2 separate regions of the Homo sapiens genome follow, and region 2 is linked to region 1. Evidence: promoter capture Hi-C in human tissues and cell types (Jung and others, 2019). All regions are on one chromosome and are shown on one strand. The core of a region is centred on a gene start or on the middle of the fragment in contact, and the rest is flanking DNA. Distances in the headings are between cores, read along the strand shown. Region 1 holds the start of DPYSL3 (dihydropyrimidinase like 3). Region 2 overlaps STK32A (serine/threonine kinase 32A).

The links. Contacts are between HindIII fragments. The study calls those that stand out against the background at their distance.
Region 2: a fragment that was not itself captured here is called in contact with the fragment with the promoter of DPYSL3 in region 1 in 2 of the 25 tissues and cell types used here (IMR-90 fibroblasts and mesenchymal stem cells).

What each region holds. Positions count from the first base shown.
Region 1 is chr5:147,508,302-147,513,312 of GRCh38, forward strand. It overlaps DPYSL3 (dihydropyrimidinase like 3), which reads right to left and starts at 1,767. Exons shown (of 14, transcript NM_001197294.2): 1 at 1,177-1,767. The coding sequence starts at 1,557. The HindIII fragment of the contact is 5,398 bases long and covers 1-4,537 here.
Region 2 is chr5:147,367,298-147,372,141 of GRCh38, forward strand. It overlaps STK32A (serine/threonine kinase 32A), which reads left to right. Exons shown (of 13, transcript NM_001112724.2): 9 at 3,357-3,473. Among named protein-coding and RNA genes, the nearest start is that of STK32A, 130 kb to the left of the region's middle. The HindIII fragment of the contact is 3,105 bases long and covers 506-3,610 here.

The DNA of each region.
Region 1 (5,011 bases), core at 517-3,016:
ACAGAGATGCTGTTCTTTCACTAGCTCATTGCATTTTAATGGAAAAACAACTAAAACCTGAATAAGCATTAACTGTAATTGCTCTGAGGCAGACATTTCCATTTCAGGTTGTTATTCCTAACCATATTAGTGCAGAATAATACATGCGGATGGATTTTGCGGCCATTACCTAGACAAGGGTGAGGGCATCTGATTATTATTATTCCCCAACTGAAAGCTTCAGTTTGAACTCTGAAGTCTCCAGCCCTGCCAGGCCCTGCATTTTCTGAACTACATCTCTGAGTCTCTGTGAAATAGACACATAAATCAGGGCAAGCTAGATTTCAATGCCATCCCTTCAGTCAGTTCAGTGTGACATAAGTTTCTCAAAAATACACATACAGAAGAAATTGGCTTTGGCACATTTAAGAGCAGCAGGGAATTTGCATCTCATGCTAGTTTAATGTGCACTCTTAATACTCTCGTCTATTTTCTAAAATATAATGCTATTCTTGCAGAGGCAGCTGGACCCCTGTAATACCCAGTCTTGTGCCAAGCTATGTACACAAATACACTCTTTACAAACACAGATGTGAAATGCCGTGCTAAGACACAAGCGAGGCATAGAGAGAGATTCGCGTGTTTAGTCTAGAGGCTCCACACCCAAAAGTTTCAGGGACAGAGCTGATGTTTGAAGACTGAGAGGGGAGACCGCCCCTCCAGTACTTTCATCCGGGCACTATGGAGATGACCCCCATATTCCCAGCATCACTTTGCCCTCTGCCGTGGTGACCCGGGTTGAGATTTAATCTAGGGCCAGAGGGGGGCAAGACAATTGTGCTGTTGGCTACTAGAGAGAAGAGCTGGAAATCACTAAGCCTTCCCGGGCTGACACACCCACCCAGACCGGATGGCCCAGGAGTGCGGCGAGGAGGCAGGGGCAAAGGACGCGGCTCCAGGCAGGGGAACCCGGGCATCCCTTCCGCGCTTGCACGAAGATGCTGCAAGTGGCGACACGCGCGAATCCAGGGTCTGGGCTAGGAAGTCGCGCTACGCTCAGTGGAGGATGACCCTTTCCTCCTCCTTGTCCCCCAGCCCCGTGCAAAGTGAGCTGGAGAAAGTTGTGCCCGGGCCATGGCGGCCAGGGCTGGAGAAAGGAACGAAGGCAAGGAGGGAAGTGACCCGGGGCCCCCTTACCTTGTCCTTGGGGCCGAGGTTCTGCAACACCTCTTTGCCGGTGGCGCTCCGGATCTCTACCCCGGCGGGGGCGGGGGAGGCGGGCGCGGGCTCCCTGCTCTCTTCCCGGCCTTGGCCCCTGCGCGGGGTGTCCCCCTCGATCCCGGGCCGACTCCCCGATCCTCGGTCGCTGCCCTGGCCGCTCCGAGGAGTCTTCGCGCCCCGCTGCCCCACGCTGAGGGCATCGAAATCCAGCGTCTTGCTCTCGAAGGCGCCCTCCACGTTGCAGAACATGCCGCCGTATTTCTGCCGCGGGACCTGGTCCGTGGTGCCCGGCCTGGCCAGGTACACGGGCAGATCGTCTTCGTGGGAGCTGTCCCAGCCCCTCCGGCCCGAGGCCATGGTTCAAGCACGAAAGCGGCCCGCGGGTTTTTCTTCCCCAGAGGCGGAAAGGGCAGCCGCCGGCAGCGTGCGCCGAGCCACAGTGACTGTGGCGGGAGGAGGCGCCTGAGCCTTCGCGCCAGAGGCGGCAGTGCTGCTCCGATTCCTGCTTGTCCCTAGCGAGCCAGCGAGCCACACAGCCAGCTAGCGCGCGGAGCAGGGGCCCAGAGTAGCGCCGCGCTTGGCTCACTCGCTGGACCTCTCGCCCGGCCGCACCTCCTCACGCACCCCCAACCCTAACGTGGCCTCCCGGGCTGACGCAGCGTCGGTGCCCATCACAATCACAAACCAAACTTGGCGCGCGCGCACACGCACACACAGGCGCACACTGCCCGCTCGCGCAACAGCCTTGCCTCACACACTTTCGCGCAATTTAGACGTCTTAGAAATGTTCACACTCCAGCACTTGACTGCTTCACCCACACTAACTCCCTAGTTTGCCTCACAAACACAAAGCTTTCTGACGTCCCTCGTGCACAAAAACCCAGCTGACCCAGGTGGATTCATCTCAAAGCCAAGTCCTGATTTACAACTAACACATACAAACTCAAATTTACGACAGACTCACAATCCTACCCGGAACCCCGGACTTGCCTCATCCTGATCTTTAGGATGACACTCATAACTACACCCAGTTCTAGAATCTGCCTTGCAAACCCACACTCTCACATGAAGTCCTGAATTGGCTTACACACACAACACAAACACACACTGAGAGAGAAGCCCTCTTACTTCATTGAGAGTCACAAAAGCCCTTTGGCTCACATAAGCCCTTTCTTAGCTTCTATATAATATCCTAGTTTGCTTTTTACCACCCCTAATTTGCCTCATTTCAGATCACACACACACACACACACACACACACACATTCTTAGGTTTTGCCTTGCAAAGCACTCTTCATTGATGCTCTGTCCCTCATACAACAAACCCCAGATTTTAATCTCACACACTGACACAAGTCCAGGTTTACCTCAGTCGGAACCGACACTTAGATTCACACCTAAGCCCAGATTTACTTCAAAAATCACACAACCAAAGACTTTGCTTTTCATGTTACCTCAGATGTATGCAGACTTTACTTATGTACATCTGTGCTTTCATAACCTCATTCTCTTCCCCACGTCCACCCACGTATACTCTGACGCCGACTCTGCCACATAAACAGAACCTGCAAACTACATACCTTACATCATATCTGCACACACCACCTAAACCCAAAACCTGTTGTGCCGGATTTAACTGTGCTCCCTCTCAGAAAGTCACCCATTTATTTATTTAGTCAACCAACATAAATCAGGTACCCACTATGGCTTTCACAAGATGCTGGAGCAACAGTGTCGAACAAGAGAGATCGGCCTGTCCTCACCAAGAATGTAGTCTATTACCACCCATCTAGGTAGCACAGCCGTTCACTGTTCTGCTCAACTTACAGAACTTTGTTTATTTTGTGAACTAAACACTCCCCCTCCCAAGTATGGACACATACATGCTAAGCTCCATAAAGGCAGAGATCTGGTCTGTTCAGTTCACCTTTGTATATCTTGTGCCCAGAACATCTACAGGCACTTGATACATTCTTTTTGAACAAATGGAGGATAACAATAACAACGACAGCAGCACCAGAAAATGTTTATGGAGTTATTGCTATGTGCCAGTCATTATTATAATTGTTTCACATATATTAACTCATTTAATGCTCATAAGCATATGGCCGGCTTCTTTGTGCGCATAGACATACTCTTTGAAGGCATCCACATAGAATTTGATGAAATTAACCTTTGAACTCTGATTTTGGAGTGGAACAAAGGCTCCGGAAACTGGAATGTCAGTCTCAGGTCTGTGACAGCCACAAAATATTGAGGAATGGAAGTTGGCCTGAACTTAGATCAAAGACAGGTATGTTGACACAATTTAAACCTATCCCCTGGCCAGGCGCAGTGGCTCACACCTGTAATCCCAACACTTTGGGAGGCTGAAGCAGGTAGATCACCTCAGGTCAGGAGTTCAAGATCAGCCTGGCCAACATGGTGAAACCCAATCTCTACTAAAAATGTAAAAAATAGCCGGGCGTGGTGGCACCCGCCTGTAGTCCCACCTACTTGGGAGGAGGCTGAGGCAGGAGAATTGCTTGAACTCAGGAGGTGGAGGTTGCAGTGAGCAGAGATTGCGGCACTGGGCTCAAGCCTAGGCGACAGAGCAAAATTCCACACAAAACAACAACAACAACAACAACCCAATCCCCAGTGAAGAGAAAGCCACTTGCTAAACTGCCTGTGCTCTATCAGAATTATTTATGACTTCTTAAGCTGACTTCCTTTGGGCAGCTGCTCCTTCTTAACAAATGCTGGTTGGTGATGGACTCAGAATTTCCTGTGAGTGCTGCTTCAGAACAATTACAGTTAAGGGTTATCCAGGTTTTATTAGTTTCAGGCTCTGCGCTAAGGACATCCAGGCAGTATCTTAATTAATCTTAATAACCTTACCTGTCTGGTACTAGCATTTCTTTTTGTTTGAGACAGCATCTCCCATTTGAGACAGATGGGAAAGGCAGGAGTGCAGTGGCCCGATCACAGCCCATGGCAGCCTTGACCCCTGGGGCTCAAACAATCCTCCTACTTCAGCCTCCTGAGTAGCTGCGACCACAGGGGTGTGCCACCATGCCCAGCTAAACTTGTATTTTTTTCAGAAACAGAGTTTCACCATGTTGCCCAGGCTGGTCTTGAACTCCTGAGCCCAAGCCATCTGCCCACCTTGGCCCCCCAAAGTACTGGGATTACAGAAGTGAGCCACTGCACCTGGCCTATTATTTCTTTTCTACTAATGAGGAAGCAGAGGCTCTGAATGAATGTCCAAGTTACAAAAGAGTCATAACTTGAAGGAGGATACGTGCAGAGTCTGTTTACTTTGAGAGAGGGCACATTCTGAATGTAGACACACACTTTTATGTGCATATTTGCATGGGAACATGGGCATACAAACAGAACTTCGTAGTTGTACGTGAGCCCCATTGTTATAGCTGCATTGCCTCACCACTATGTCTGATGCAGTGTATAGGCACAATAATTACATTTGTTGACAAAGTATCACATTTAAAAGTAACAGTTACATGTACACATATGTGTTTAATTAAGAAAGTACAGCAGCCTATTAAAATTTTAGAAAGACTAAAATGGGAATGGCTGATCTGGCTCCAGTTCTGCAACTATGTGGCTTTAGGCAAATGTCTGGCTTAACCTATTTGTGTTTTTCTCCTTTATGTTTGCCTCCCACTGAATAGAATTATTATGGACTTCATTCCTGGAGCAAGCCATTGTGCTTAGAATTTCATAAACATTGCCTTAACCTTCATAAGAACCCCATAAATCTGAAGTGATGATTATTTCCATTTTATCCATGGAGAAAATGAGCCTTAGTG
Region 2 (4,844 bases), core at 808-3,307, 140 kb before region 1:
TCAAGCAATCCACCTGCCTTGGCCCTGCAAAGTGGTGGGATTACAGGTGTGAGCCGCCGCACCTGGTCACAATATTTAACTTTAAATAGGTATATAATACATGGTTATTTTCACTCACATCCATGTGAAGAGACCACCAAACAGGCTTTGTGTGAGCAACAAGGCTATTTCACCTGGGTTTCAGGTGGGCTGAGTCCGAAAAGAGAATCAGCGAAGGGAGATAGGAGTGGGGCCGTTTTATAAGATTTGGGTAGGTAAAGGAAAAAGGGGGGTTGTTCTCTGGTGGGCAGGGGTGAGGATCACAAGGTGCTCAGCGGGGGACGTTTTGAGCCAGGATGAGCCAGGAGAAGGAATTTCACAAGGTAGTGTCATCAGTTAAGGCAGGAACCGGCCATTTTCACTTCTTTTGTGGTGGAATATCATCAGTTAAGGCAGGAACCAGCCATCTGGATGTGTATGTGCAGGTCACAGGGGATATGATGGCTTAGCTTGGGCTCAGAGGCCTGACAGTTATTGAATGAATGGAGAAACAAATCACTTAGACACCTTCTAGGAAAAAATGACCAACTATGCTACCTGCAATTACGTTTCAAAATGTAGCTTATCTGAAGAAAAGGAAGTAACATTTAATTACAAGCATCAATACAACTCAAGCACAGAGGAAGTGTGCTAAACAATTTCCTCCATACGTACAAATTTTTATTTACAGAAAAGTATATGTCTTAATGAGAAAATGTGCTCGAAAACATTCTCATCATTTCTGAGTTTGGTTTCAGTCTTAATGAATGTGTCCCTTAACTATTAATCTGCTTTGTCATCTCTCTAACTCCCTACTATCTCATTGCCATTGCAAAGGCAAAGGTCCACATCTTTTATAGTTTCATATTATCCAAAAGTGTTAACTTAGGATAGATGTGTACATAGTTTTGTACTCATTGTACATGCTTAGCTGCAATTCTTTTGCCTTTGCACTTCTGAAATACAACCATATTCACAACACATCATTTGTTCCCTTATAACATTTCACCTTTTCCACTTTGTTTATTCTCTATATGCTCACTGTTAGTTTAGATGCTGCCTTAGGCTTTTATGATATATACTGTGACTGCATACTGTAATTTTTCTCTATAGCATGTATCCCATTTATTTAAGTGTGTGTGTGTGTGTGTATACAGTCTATATAATAAATTTACATGCTTCCTTAAGTAGACTGTAGGCCCCACCAACATAGAAACCATATGTGTCTTGTTCTTCATTGTACCCTCAATGCCTAAGAAAGGTGCTGGAACATGGTAGGCATTCAATAAATAATTGGTAAATAAATAAATATACAATTCTGGTAGTTGATTAATTCAAATTAATTTTAAAATTTAGAACTGTAAAAGTAAATTAAAAAATAAGATAAAGACAATGTGATTATTTTTTAATAAACCAACAGGTCATGGAGATTTTAAAAATTAAATTCAGTCATATGGCCTTGTAAAGTAACTAGAGAAAAATGTACACACTTAAACCAGCTGCTTGTGGCATTCATCAGTTAATTCATTTGTTTATAAAATCATTTTATTTTCTAGGTGGCCCAGAAACAGTAGGTTGAGAAGCAGCAATGAATTAAAATCAAGAAGAAACACAGAAAAAAGTAAAAACACATGTGCATACACATATAAGCCTAGAAGCTTGAGTATACTAAGCCTAATCTGATTCTTAATGATAAACATGGTCTGAATCATATGGAGTAACCTAACCCTTTGGCTACTAAATTACCAATAAACATTGATAATGGTGATAAAGCATCTAGCACTCCTTTACTGATATTGAGTTAATGAGTTATTTCTACTATATAATTACCAAGACATATGATATAGCTATGGTCCTTTATTTAGTGTTGAGGGGGTAAATATGGCAGTTGTTTTTAGATCTTACTTAAAAAGCAAAAATGTTTGAATTAATCTCCCTTTCAAGGGCCACCTCCTGGCACTTCATGGTTCCATGAATAGCTGACATTGACTTGCCATGTGTAAAATTAAGCTTTTCTTCCCATCACTTTTCTTGAGGACTCATTTTGCTGTTCACTATTCATTCACATTTACATATGCCCATTTTTACCTTTGTGTCAATAATGATAAAAATCTCTCTCTTATATTGTGTCTAATACTATTAGCCACTCACTCTGTTGAGAAATTTACACATATTATCTCCTTTAATTTTTCCAGCAATCTCATGAGGTAGCTCATTTTACAGATGAAGTAACAAGCTCAGAAATTGAGTGGAGAAGTTTAGCACCAAATCCTTTTAACCTCAAACACATGATTATTTTATATTACCTCTTAACACTGATTTACTACAGGGAAAAACTTAAACCCTTTCATTTCCCCCAATTTAGGTCATCCATCAACAGTCATTTATTAAATATCTTAAAAGGGCCAGGCATGTGATCAATGTGTATATCCATATTAACTGTGCTGTGGCTAGTTAATCGAATATGGAAATTTTGTTCATTAAATAAACATGTATTGTGCACCTACTGAATGCTTGGTCTCATGAACAAGAATGATATAATCTCTGGCTGTGAGTATCTTACAGTTCACATAAGAGACATGAAATTTCAGTGTTGGTGAGTCCCCTACAAAATAATATAGATAAAGGCTGTCCTCTAGTGTAAAGCTGTGAAAACTACAGCTAATCCACAGTTTTCTTTTGTTTAATTTCTTTTCTTTTTAAATTACTTTTCTTCAAAATTAAAACTGTAGAAGAACCTGGTTCTTCCCCCAAAATTTTTTTTAAAAGCTTCTGCCTCATCACAAAATTCTCCACCCTGCCATACTCTGTGGAACCAGGGACTCATAGCATTTGTGGGACTGGAGTTGATGTTTTCTGAGCAGTTTTCTGTCCTGAGCTTCCTCATTATGTTGCAGTGAAAGGGATGGTATGGTAAAATTCTGGATTTACTTGCAATCAACCCTTACATAATAATTTTTTAGACTTCCATTTATTGAGGACTTGTCCAGTATTTCGTGTTAATACTTATATAATACCTTATAAAACAATTTCAAATCAGCATCTCAGAGGCTGATTCAGTCCACTTGAATGTTTTGTTTGGCTCAGTGGAGTGTTCAACTTTAAAATTTATGGTATTTTAGAAGCGACCATAAATTCCTAGTGTCTCTTTAAGAAAAAGTAGGGGGTCTGGCAACACAGGACCACCTACACATATGGCAACGCAAGAGTCAGCTGGACAGGGTTAGAAATTGATATAGATATTTTATCGGTTGAAAGTTTAGCTTGGAAACATTTGGAAATTTTTTTTTTCTTTTGTCCTATACAAATGAAGACTTTTACTTCTTTTCTCCCTTAAGAGACCGTATCATATTCGCTCCAGTACTTCCAGCAAGGAAATTGTACACACGTTTGAGACGACTGTTGTAACTTACCCTTCTGCCTGGTCACAGGAAATGGTGTCACTTCTTAAAAAGGTAAGAAGGAAGACTGCATGTCCAAACGAAGTAACAAAAGGAAGCAGGCTCTCTGGCTTAAGTTTAGAAGTTAGTATACAATATTGGGGACAGTCATGATAGTATACATTTGTAGAGTGTATTTTCTAGCTGTTAGCTTTCAAATACATGGCTTCATTAACTCAACTCAGATTCCCCTTGGATGTCCCAAAGCCATCTTAAACTCAAAGGACTTCTTTATCTTTGTCTTTCCTGAATATCTTCTCAGGAAATTCTCTCAGTGACTGGCTTCTCTATCCAAATCCACTTACGCCAGCCAGCAACCAGGACTCATTTGTCATCTGCGTATTCAATTCATCACCAGGTTCTGAAATTTTATATTTTAAGTATTAAAATATTTCACTTCTCTCTGTCCTCACTACTATTTCCCTGATCCAACTGCCATCAGTCTAGCCTTATAACGGGTTTGTCCACATACACTTTTACCACTCCATTCTATTCCCCATGCAGCCCCACAGTGGTCTGTTAAAGGACAGTCCAGGATATTTTCCTTATTCTTAGAATAAAGATTAAAATAATTTTGTGGTACAAAAGTTCAAAATACCTCTCAAGCCTTGTTTTGGACTTTTGGACTTTTGTCCCCCCTTTGACTACACATAAACTGCTTTGGCCTTTTTCTTCTTCTTTTCTTTCTTTTCTCCTTCTTCACTTTTACATACCAGTCTTCCTCTCACCACAGGACCTTTGCACATGCCAGTACCTATTCCTGGAACAGTGCCTCCAATCCTAGTTCCTCCAGTTCCTCCTTGAGAGCAGTACTACTCAATGTGGTTCACTGGTTCTAGTCCATGAATTTTTTCTGCAGGTCTATTGTAAGTAAAGAACTTGAGAGAAGCATTTAGAAACTTTTATAGCAATTGGACACTGCTGTAGCATCTAAACACATGATCAATGGACTTATCTTATTGAAGAGGGTCCAAGCTTGTTTGACGGTTGTTGAACTCAAGTCACAAGGTGTCTATGTGGGGTGCTGCATACTGGCAATGCATAATAAGACCACATACTGATTTCAGTGGATTGGAAATTGAAACAGACAAAAACAAACAAAAATAACTGACCCTTCTACATAGTTTGGGAAGCACAACTTTAGCTCTTAGCTCAAATATCACCTTCTTGGTGTAAGTTCACATAACACTATCTTTCCTTCATAGCATTTTTCAGTTTAAAATTATACCCAGCATTTGTGTGATCCTTGGTTACGTACCATTTTCTTCTTAGCTTCATGAGGGTAGGGACCATGTCTGACATGTGTTACCATTGTATTCTCAGCATCTAACACAAAGCCTGAGAAGTGAAATTTGACAAGTATTCAAATAAATGAGGTCCACAGCT